Linked DNA regions of Homo sapiens: regions 1 and 3 are each linked to region 2. The links are contacts of gene promoters, found by promoter capture Hi-C in human tissues and cell types (Jung and others, 2019). All regions are on one chromosome and are shown on one strand. Each heading gives the region's core, a stretch centred on a gene start or on the middle of the fragment in contact. The rest is flanking DNA. Distances are from core to core; before and after follow the strand shown. Region 1 has its middle 35 kb from the start of TMED3. Region 2 holds the start of ST20-MTHFS (ST20-MTHFS readthrough). Region 3 has its middle 48 kb from the start of MINAR1.

The links. The method cuts DNA at HindIII sites, captures the fragments that hold promoters and counts their contacts. A contact is called where the count stands out against the background at its distance.
Region 1: a contact is called between a fragment that was not itself captured here and the fragment with the promoter of ST20-MTHFS in region 2, in 2 of the 25 tissues and cell types used here (bladder and mesenchymal stem cells).
Region 3: a contact is called between a fragment that was not itself captured here and the fragment with the promoter of ST20-MTHFS in region 2, in 3 of the 25 tissues and cell types used here (lymphoblastoid cells, mesenchymal stem cells and mesendoderm cells).

The regions. Positions count from the first base shown.
Region 1 is chr15:79,344,220-79,347,740 of GRCh38, forward strand. It overlaps a transcript of TMED3 not described here. Among named protein-coding and RNA genes, the nearest start is that of TMED3, 35 kb to the left of the region's middle. The HindIII fragment of the contact is 4,778 bases long and covers 1-3,521 here.
Region 2 is chr15:79,921,242-79,924,611 of GRCh38, forward strand. It overlaps ST20-MTHFS (ST20-MTHFS readthrough), which reads right to left and starts at 1,851. Exons shown (of 4, transcript NM_001199760.2): 1 at 1,798-1,851. It overlaps ST20 (suppressor of tumorigenicity 20), which reads right to left and starts at 2,511. Exons shown (of 3, transcript NR_037653.2): 1 at 2,211-2,511. It overlaps ST20-AS1 (ST20 antisense RNA 1), which reads left to right and starts at 1,530. Exons shown (of 1, transcript NR_028330.1): 1 at 1,530-3,370. RefSeq lists silencers at 1,669-1,778, 1,799-1,868, 1,879-1,928, 2,549-2,698 and enhancers at 2,229-2,408, 2,839-2,888, 3,090-3,370. The HindIII fragment of the contact is 9,290 bases long and covers 1-3,370 here.
Region 3 is chr15:79,382,277-79,385,500 of GRCh38, forward strand. It overlaps a transcript of TMED3 not described here. Among named protein-coding and RNA genes, the nearest start is that of MINAR1, 48 kb to the right of the region's middle. The HindIII fragment of the contact is 3,235 bases long and covers 132-3,224 here.

The DNA of each region.
Region 1 (3,521 bases), core at 675-3,174, 580 kb before region 2:
TGCCTTTTCAGGAGTGAGGAGTGAGCCTCGGTGTCAAATGCTGCTGCTGAGAGCTGGTGTTGGCGTCCTAGGATTGCTGTAACAAATGACCACAAACTGGGAAGCTTAAAACAACATAATTTTTTCCTCTCACAGCTTTGGAAACCATAATTCTAAAGTCAAGGTATTGGCAGGGTTGGCTCCTTCCAGATGCTCTGGGGAAGAGCTCATTCCATGTCTCTCTCCAGGATTCTGGTGGCCCCAGGCTAGGATACATGACTAGGTTCCATGACACACCACCAAACCCCCAACTCCATTTCACATGGTGGTTTCTTGGTCTCTCTCTCTTTTCTCTTATAAGGATTTGTCATTGGATTTAGGGTCCTCTAATGCAGGATGACATTATTTTGAGATCCTTACTTTAATTACATCTGCAGAAAACCCTTTTTCTTTTAAGGTCACATTCCCAGGTTCCAGGAAGACATGAATTTGGGGGAACCTCATTCAACCCAGAGGGCCAGCAAGAAGAGAACTGGTAACTGAACTTTGGATCTGGCAAGGTCGAGATCGTTGGTGACTTAACAAGAGTAATTTGTACGAAACATTGGAGGCAAAGACTTCACTGTAGTGAGCCCAGTGAGATGAGGCAGTGTGAAAGGGAGACAATGTTTTATAGGAGTTTAACTTTAAAGCTTTGCTGTGTTTGAGCAGTAGCCGGAAGGAGATGTGGAAGAGACTGTTTTTGTTTTATAATTTGAGAGACAGAGCAGCATATGGGAATTTAATGGAAATGCTCACAGAAAGAGAGAAAACAGGGGGACAATGAAAGACATATAAATATAGAGAGCTACCAATCAGGAAGAAGAGGACCACCAACTCAATAGAAAGACTGGGCCAAAGATCCAGACAGGGAAGAAAAATAGAAAGCTCTTTTTAAAAATTTATTTACTTTATTTTTTATTAACTTTTAAGTTCAGGGGTACATGTGCAGGTTTGTTACATAGGTACACTGGTGTCATGGGGGTTTGTTGTACAGATTATTTCATCACCCAGATATTAAGCCTAGTACCCATTAGTTATTTTTCCTGATCCTCTCCCTTCCCACCCTTCACCCTCTGATAGGCCATAGTGTGTTGTTCCCCTTTATGTGTCCATGTGTTCTCATCATTTAGCTCTCACTTATAAGTGAGAACATGCAGTATTTGGTTTTCTGTTTCTGCATTAGTTTGCTAAGGATAATGACCTCCAGCTCCATCCGTGTTCCTGCAAATGACATGATCTTGTTCTTTTTCTGGCTGCATAGTATTCCATGGTTTATATGTACCACATTTTCTTTATCCAGTCTATTATTGGTGGGCATTTAGGTTGTTGATTCCATGTCTTTGCTATTGTGAGTAGTGCTGCAATGAATATACACATACATGTGTCTTTATAACGAAACAATTTATATTCCTTTGGGTATATGCCCAGTAGTGGGATTGCTGGGTCAAATAATATTTCTGCTTATAGGTCTTTGAGGAATCATCACACTGTCTTCCACAATGGTTGAACTAATTTACATTCCCACCACCAGTGTATAAGCATTCCTTTTTCTCCACAACCTCACTAGCATCTGTTATTTTTTCCCTTTTACTAATAGCCATTCTGACTGGTGTAAGATGACATCTTCTCATGGTTTTGATTTGCATTTCTGTAATCATCAGTGATGTTGAGCTCTTTTTTATAAGATTGTTGGCCACGTGTATGCCTTCTTTTGAAAAGTATCTGTTTATGTCATTTTCCCGCTTCTTAATGGAGTTGTTTGTATTTTTTCTTGTAAATTTGTTTAAGTTCTTTATAGATGCTGGAGTTAGACCTTTGTCAGATGCATAGTTTGCAAAAATTTTCTCCCATTCTGTAGGTTGGCTCTTCACTCTGTTGATAGTTTCCTCTGCTGTGCAGAAGCTCTTTAGTTTAATTAGATCCCATTTGTCAGTTTTTGCTTTTGTTACAATTGCTTTTGGTGTCTTTGTCATGAAGTTTTGCCTGTTCCTATGTCCAGAATGGTATTGCCTAGGTTGTCTTATAGGGTTTTGATATGGTTAGACTTTGTGTCCCCACCCAAATCTCATTTTAAATTGTAGATCCCATAATTCCCATGTGTCGTGGGAGGGACCAGGTGGACATAATTGAATCATGGGGGCTATTCCCACCATCCTGTTCTCATGATAGTGAATAAGTCTCACAAGATCTGATGGTTTTATAAAGGGCAGTACCCCTGCACATGCTCTCTTACCTGCCACCATATATATGTGCCTTTGCTCCTCTTTCACCTTCCACCATGATTGTGAGGCCTCCTGAGCCATGGGAACTGTGAGTTCATTAAACCTCTTTTTCTTTATAAATTACCCAGTCTTGAGTACATCCTTATTAGCAGCATGAGAACAAACTAATCAGGTTTTTATAGTTTTGGGTTTTCCATTTAAGTCTTTATTCCATCTTGAATTGATTTTTGTATATGGTGTAAGGAAGGGGTCCAGTTTCAATCTCCTGCCTATGGCTAGCGAATTCTCCCAGCACCATTTATTGAATGGGGAATCCTTTCCTCATTGCTTGTTTTTATCAGGTTTGTAGAAGACCTGATAGTTGTATGTGTGTGGCCTTACTTGAAACATCATCAATAATGAGCTCTGAAATTGAGCCAGTAATAAATAGCCTACTAACCAAAAAAGCCCAGGACCAGAAGTATTCCACAGCTGAATTCTACCAGATGTACAAAGACGATCTGGTAGCATTTCTGCTAAAACTACTCCAAAAATTTAAGGAGGAGGGACTCCTTCCTAATTCATTCTGAGGCCAACATCATCCTGATACCAAAACACGGCAGAGACACAACAGATAAAGAAAACTTCAGGTCAATTTCCTAGATGAACATCAGTGCAAAAATCCTCAACAAAATACTGGCAAACTGAATCCAGCAGCACATCAAAAAGCTTACCCACCATGATCAAGTAGGCTTTACCCCTAGGATGCAAGGTTTGTTCAACATATGCAAATCAATAAACATGATTCATTACATAAACAGAACTAAAGACAAAAAACCCACATGATTATCTCAAGAGATGCAGAAAAGGCTTTCAATAAAATTCAACACTGCTTCATGTTAAAAACTCTTAGTAAACTAGGTATTGAAGGAAAATACCTCAAAATAATAAGAGCCATCTATGACAAACCCACAGCCAACATTATACTTAATGGGCAGAAGATGGAAGGATTCTTTGTGAAAACTGGCACAAGACGAGGCTGCCCTCTGTCACCACTCCTATTCAACATTGTATTGGAAGTCACGGCCAGGGCAATCAGGCAAGGGAAAGAAATAAAGTGCATCCAAATAAGAAGGGAGGAAGTCAAACTATCCTTGTTTGCAGATGACATGATACTATATCTAAACATCCCCATAGTCTCACCTCAAAAGCCCCTTATACTAATAAAGAACTTCAGCGTAGTCTCAGCATACAAAATCAATGTGCAAAAATTACTAACATTCTTATACGCCAACAACA
Region 2 (3,370 bases), core at 601-3,100:
AGTGAGCTGAGATCATGCCACTGCACTCCAGCCAGGGCAACAGAGCGAGACTCCGTCTCAAAAAAAAAAAAAAATAGTAAATAAAAAATAAAGGTTTGTCACCATATACTCAAGAGTACTTCTGTTATTCAAATCTCCTAACTGGGAGTTACAAATATCTCTGACTCTGCTCTTGTAGCTGTCAGAGCATAAAATGCCCTTCCCACTCTTTCCTCACTTCCAGACTCCAAAGCCTCCTCCTCAAAGTTTGGCCCCTCTACTTTGGACTACTGTTTTCTTCCCAGTTACTGCGCACTGACAGTACTTTTGTTCTCTCTTTCGGCAATTCACCATACACTTTCTAGTTTATTTATCTGCATAAAACTTAGTTCTCAACAAGACTATAACTGCCTTATGAACAGGAATCAACAGTTGAGAATCTTCAGAGTCTCCTATAACATCATGTAAGAGCTCACTAAATGTTTGATTTAAATAACTAGGCTTAAGAGTAATAGGCTGGGCATGGTGGCTCATGCCTGTAATCCCAGCTCTTTGGAAGGCCGAGGCGGGAGGATCACGAGGTCAGATCGAGGCCATCCTGGCTAACACGGTGAAACCCGTCTCTTCTAAAAATACGAAAACAAAAAATTAGCAGGGAGTGGTGGCCAGTGCCTGTAGTCCCAACTACTCGGGAGGCTGAGGCAGGAGAACGGTGTGAACCCAGGAGGCGGAGCTTGCAGTAAGCCAAGATCTCAACAGTGCTAAATGCATACATGGATTATCTTACTAAATTTTCATAACTCTATAGAGGTAAGTGCTATCATTATTTTCTCCATCATAGAGGAAGAAAGTGAAGCTCAGAATAACTTGCTCAAGGTCATACAGGCCTGGGCAAACCCAGGGCCTGAATCCAGCAAAGCTCTTAACTACCTCAGAACACTGCACAGTTCGAGCCCTGCAATACTACAGTCTATGAATGATTTCGATTTCACTAAGTTAGAAATTTGAATTTCAACAGAGACATTTTAGCTAAAAGGTAAAATTTTAAAGAGGATGAATTAAGAGAATTTCCCACAGACATCTTTATAATAAAATGAGGAGAAAAGCCTCCCATTTCCTATTTATGAAAGTGATATTAAGGTGTGTGTCACAATTTCATCAAGAAGTGGCTTATGACAATACAGCTTTGGTTTAGGTATTAAAATAGGACTCTTTTCTGCCCATAGGAGGACATGGAAATGAAGGATAGATGTGATAAATGTCAATTCAGAGCTCTGCAAAATGCCAGACTCAATTCTTGTTTTAAAATATCAGAGCCAGGGCTCTTGTTTCACCCTTGATTCTTCACACAAAACACCACCATCCTCTGACCTCTTCACACAGAGCAAGCTTTACCCCACTACCTAAAGGGGAGTGCTGATCCACATGGTCTCCCCATCCACGCTAGAAATTGATCCCAAACACCAACCGCTGCATAGACGTCGGCGACTTTGGTCTGCACCCCCCGAACTTGGTGATACCTCATCAAGCCAAACCCCTCCCCAACATCCAAAATGCCCAGACCAGCATCCGAAAGCTGGTCTCCTATACAAAGCAGAATCCCTGCCTACAAAGCAGTTTCCCACCTCCGACTCCTCCCCACGGCGAACAGCCCTTCTGGATCCAACCAACCCACCAACCCCAATAGGGCCCAGCACCCAGAGGGTCCACAATCCAGAGAAGGAGCTACAAGCCCTGTACTTGCAAGCCTCGAACCCCCAACTCCAACTGACCTCCCCTCTGCCAGAGCAAGACCACGAGTACCCGCCGAGAGCGGACCTGGCTGGCTACACAAAGCCAGGCGCCCGACCAGAGGGATCCTCCGGGACGTCCTCCGCCACCGGGGCGTCCCCGCCCAGCCCCGCCCGGCGCCCGGCGCTCACCAGCTCTCCTCCCCCTCCTCCTAGCCTGACAGACGCTCCAGGTCGTCTAGCAAGCCGCCCTCCCCCGCCGCCAGCAAGAAGGTGGCGTCTCGCAGCTCCTCGTTATTCGTCCGCCTCGGGTCCATCCGGCCCCGCCGCCCGACTTTGCGCTGAGACCCAAGGGGAAGCCCCGAGGGGACCCCGCGCCGTAGGAGGGAGTGGAGGAGCCGGCGAACCGCGATGGAGCCGGGGCCCAGCACAGCGCGAGCGGCTCCTCGGCTGTTCGTGCTGCTTCCCCAGCTTCTTCACCGGCACCTGCAGCTTCCGCACCTCCTGGTCCGCGTTCACGTTAGAGTTAACGTCCTCCATCCCGGCCCCGCTGCCTCCGCCGCCCGCGGCCCTCTCGCTCTCGCAGCAACAAGGGAAGAGCCGGAGGAAAGAGGCGTCCACGCCGCTCACTCCAGCCGAGGCCCCCGCATATAGCAGGGCCAGGCCCCGTCGCCAGGGTTCCCCCAGCGCGGGTCCCGAAGCACCGCTGGCCACAGATGAACCGCCTCCTCAGCGCAGGTCCGGGATTCGGGGAGGCAGCGCCAATATCCGGTCTCTGCAGCCATCTTCCCTCCGTCCCTCCGCCCACCGAGGGTCGGCCCTGTAGGTGACCTCAGAGCGTCGGGGATGGGCGTGGCCCCGTCGGGCGCTAAGAAGACCTAGCGCAGAGAGGACCGCCGAGCTCCCGACGGGGCGGGGCCAGGTGTGTGAGGGGCGGGGATTGGACCCGGAGGGGCGTGTCTGGACTGCCGGCGGAAGTGGAACGCGGCCTGACCTGCGACGGAAAGCCACTGCAAGCCCGGAGGCGAACAGAAGGCATTCCGCGAGCCGGGCTGAGTTGGTGAACACGGTCCTCGTTCACCCCGCCTATTGGTCTGGGCGTGTGGGGTATTCTCCACCCACTTATACGGCGTGTGGGACCGACGGGCCCGTCCTGCCCGGCTCCGGTCCGGATCTCGAGTAGGCGCTCAATGGGATTCGGGGAGACGTAGTTTACTTTGTTCAGCAAATATTTAACCGATGCCTATTTTAATGGGAGATTGTTTCCGCTGGCGGGAGCCTCAGAGACCGCCTGTGTCCTTTAAGAAACCCGAATTTCAGACAGTTAAGAGAGGTCTAAGGTCAAAATAATAATCATAATTTCTTCTTACTGGCCAGATACTATGCTAAGCCCTTTTTAATTTTATTATTATTATATTTTGTCACCGAGGCTGGAGTGCAATGGCCCGATCTTGGCTCTGCAACCTCCGCCTCCCGGTTTAAAGCGATTCTCCTGCCTCAGCCTCCCGAGTAACTGGGATTACAGGCGGGCGCCACCACGCCTCGCTGATTTTTGTATTTTAGTAGAGACGGGGTTTCGCCATTTTGGCCAGGCTGGTCTCGACCCTGACCTCAGGGTGATCCGCTCACCTCAGCCACTCAAAAGTGCTGGGATTACTGGC
Region 3 (3,224 bases), core at 499-2,998, 540 kb before region 2:
TGAACTGGAATGAACAGCTTAGCAGGCATTATTCCTGGAAGGAACTTTCTAGGGAGGCTATAAGCTGGCTGGACCCCCAGACTCTGCTCTGTGTTCTGCCTCACTGAAAAACAAAATAGTTGTGACTAGCCCTACCTTCTCTTGGCTGACAGTAGTACCTGCTTGGAGCTGCTACTTGCTGATACCCACATGAGCCCAATGCCAGAATGCATAGCTAAAGTTCTGTTGCAAAGGGAGAGGTCATTCTTCCAGTGATGCCTGGCCTGCACTGGCAGCACCTATCCCACAGTGGCCCTCTGGCCTTCCCCAGGCTACCAGAAGCTGTGTCTGCCCTTCACAATTCTTCTGGGTGCTCAGCTCCTTTGGCTCAGAAGTTCACTACCTCTACCCTCTAAACTCCTGGCTGGAAACCTTAATCCCTTTCTCTATGTCCTCCACTTCACTCTGAACTTCTACCAGTATGGCTAATGGCTTTTTCAGCCACCTATCCTTCCTGCCACTCCTCATCCTGAATTTCAATCAGATCATCTACTTGTGAAGTAGTGTTTTCAGATATAGGTGCAGGGAAGCTTCTTTTATATTATCTTTCATGGGTATCTCATACTATTGTTCTTACCAACACAATATAGTCTTTATTCCCATTGACAAAGTCAATTACAAGGGCATAAACACGATTTATTTCTTTTCCAAGGGTCCCAGTGCTTCACCAACACCAACGCCACCACTAAGGGTTCCAGTGTGATCACCATCTGGGATCTACCTGTTCCAACTGCTTGTTTACCTCCTGTGCATGCTCCACGGGACATGGCTCTTTGCCTGTAGATCGCCAGGTACCCACAGCTTTACTGCCATGGTGCACTTCACTTCCTGCCTTGTCCACTCTCACCTGCACCAGTTATTGCTTACGTGGTAATCAGTATAGTCATTGATCTTCAGGGACCATCCAGCTACCCGATTTCCAATGTGGCTGCCTTTGCTATCTTGTTTTGGAAAATGTCTTAAGGCTGTTGAAGATTATATCTATTTGATCCTTTGTGCCCTTAGATGGAGAAAAGAAATGTATTGAGTAGAAGCTCTGAAAGTTTGGAAGGTCCCTCACACCATCCTCAGGTTCAGAGTTTCACTAGATGAAGTCACAGAACTCAGCAAGCCAATTTACCCATGGTTACAGTTTGTTAGAGCAGAAGAATACATTTGAAAATCAACAATAAGAAAAGGTACAAAAGGTAAAGTCTAGGAGAGACCAGGAATGGAGCTTCCCACTTGTCGCTCCCCAGTGAAGTCATACAGACTGCACTTATCTCTCCCCGCAACGATGTGTGACAATATGCCTAGGGTATTGCCAACTAGGGAAGTTCACTTGAGTCTCAGTGTCCAGAGATTTTATTGAGGAATCAGTCACATAGATATGGCTAGCCACCATACGACTGACTTTGATCTCTAGCCCCTCCAGAGATAAAGCTGATGTTGTGTTGTCCAAGGACCTCACCATAAATCTTATGGTTAGTACAGACTATCTGGCATGGCCCAAGGTCCTAGGTTTATAAAGACACTTTTGAAAGCCAGGACATTCCAAGGGCTTAAATGTTACCTTCCAGAAACTGGGGGTAAAGAGCCAAAACTTTCTTTGGGTTAATCCTTTACTGCATAAGCTCTAAGACCCCAATAATTCATGGCCCTATTTCTGGGGCATGATTCAGCCCAGAGAAGAGATCGGAGAAACCTACCTCCCATCATCAAAGAGCTCCTGGATGTTCCATCAAGCAAAACTGTGGGAGGAAATTCAGTGTTCCTATGGAGATGGTGGTGTGACCTGAGCTGGCTCAGAGGTTCTAAAAGCTTCTTCTCAAACATTGGCAAGGTCACAGGTACCCAATAAGGTACATCTTCCCTTTCCTTCAACAGTCCAAAACCTCCAGAACTCTCTCGAGGCAGTGATTAATACTAAACAAAGGACTTGAAGGATAGGAGGGATTCTGAACAGGGTAGAAATAAATAGTAGTGTGGGATATTCGTATAGTTTTCTTGGAAGAGGTAATATTTGAGTAGGATCTTGAAAAATGAGTAGACGTGTAAATGCCACAAGTAAAGGCAAAGATATATACATCATTGTCGGAATAGGAAAGAGTGTGGCACATCTGGGAATGATGAGGGGCCTTATGCAGCTGGGGGAGTCTATTGGTCAGACATGAGGCTGGAAATGGTGCAAGGGCTAGATAGGGAAGGGCTTCATATGCGATGCCAAGAGGCACAGACTATGCTGTGATTCCCTGGCAGTATAGCTGGTGGGACAAAGAGAAATCAAACTCAAAAAGTTCCCCTCTTGTCTACCATGTGTATACTCAAGTAGGTGATGAGATTGTAGGAAGAAGGTAGGATATAATAGCAGATAATTGGGTAGCCATATAGAAAAATCAAATAAAATTTGACCTTTACCTTATAAAACATATTTTTAAAAACCCAGTCTGGGTGTGGTGGCTCATGCTTGTAATCCCAGCACTTTGGGTGGCCGAGGTGGGAGAATCGCTCGAGCCCAGGAGTTTGAGACCAACCTGGGTAACATAGTGAGACCTCATCTGTATAAGAAATGAACAGCAGAGGGGCGAAGATGGCCAATTAGAAGCAGCTGCAGTCCGTGGCATTCACGGAGAGGAATGAAAGGCGTGAGTGAATACAGCACCTTCAACTGAAATATCCAGGTTCTCACATTGGGACTGATTAGGGAAACAACTTAACCATGGAGAATGAAGAAGAGCAAGGTTGGGTGATGGCCCACCTGGGAGTGACACAGAGCTAAGGGAAGTGGTGAGTGATTGTGTGACCCTGGAAAAACATGCTTCTCCCACGGATCTTTGCAACCTGTGGATCAAGAGATGCCCTTGTGAGCCCACACCACCAGGCCCTGGGGCTGACACACAGAACTGTGTGGAGTCTTGGCAGAGTAACTGCTCAGGCATGCACAGAGACCCAGCAGCTTTATATACTCTGGCCCTGGGATCCCCATCAGATGTGTCTAACTCAGGCAAGGTGAGAGGTCCGCACCTACCCCTAGGAAGGGGGGCAGAATCCAGGGAGCTGATTCTGTGGGTCCCACTTCCACAGCACCTCACAAATTCTTGGGGCTCCATCCCATCTCAAGCAGGCTCCACCCAGTTGCCGGTGGCTGGCTGGAATGTCAAGCCAGTGGATCTTACTTTGTGAGGTGCTGCACCTGGGAAGGTGGC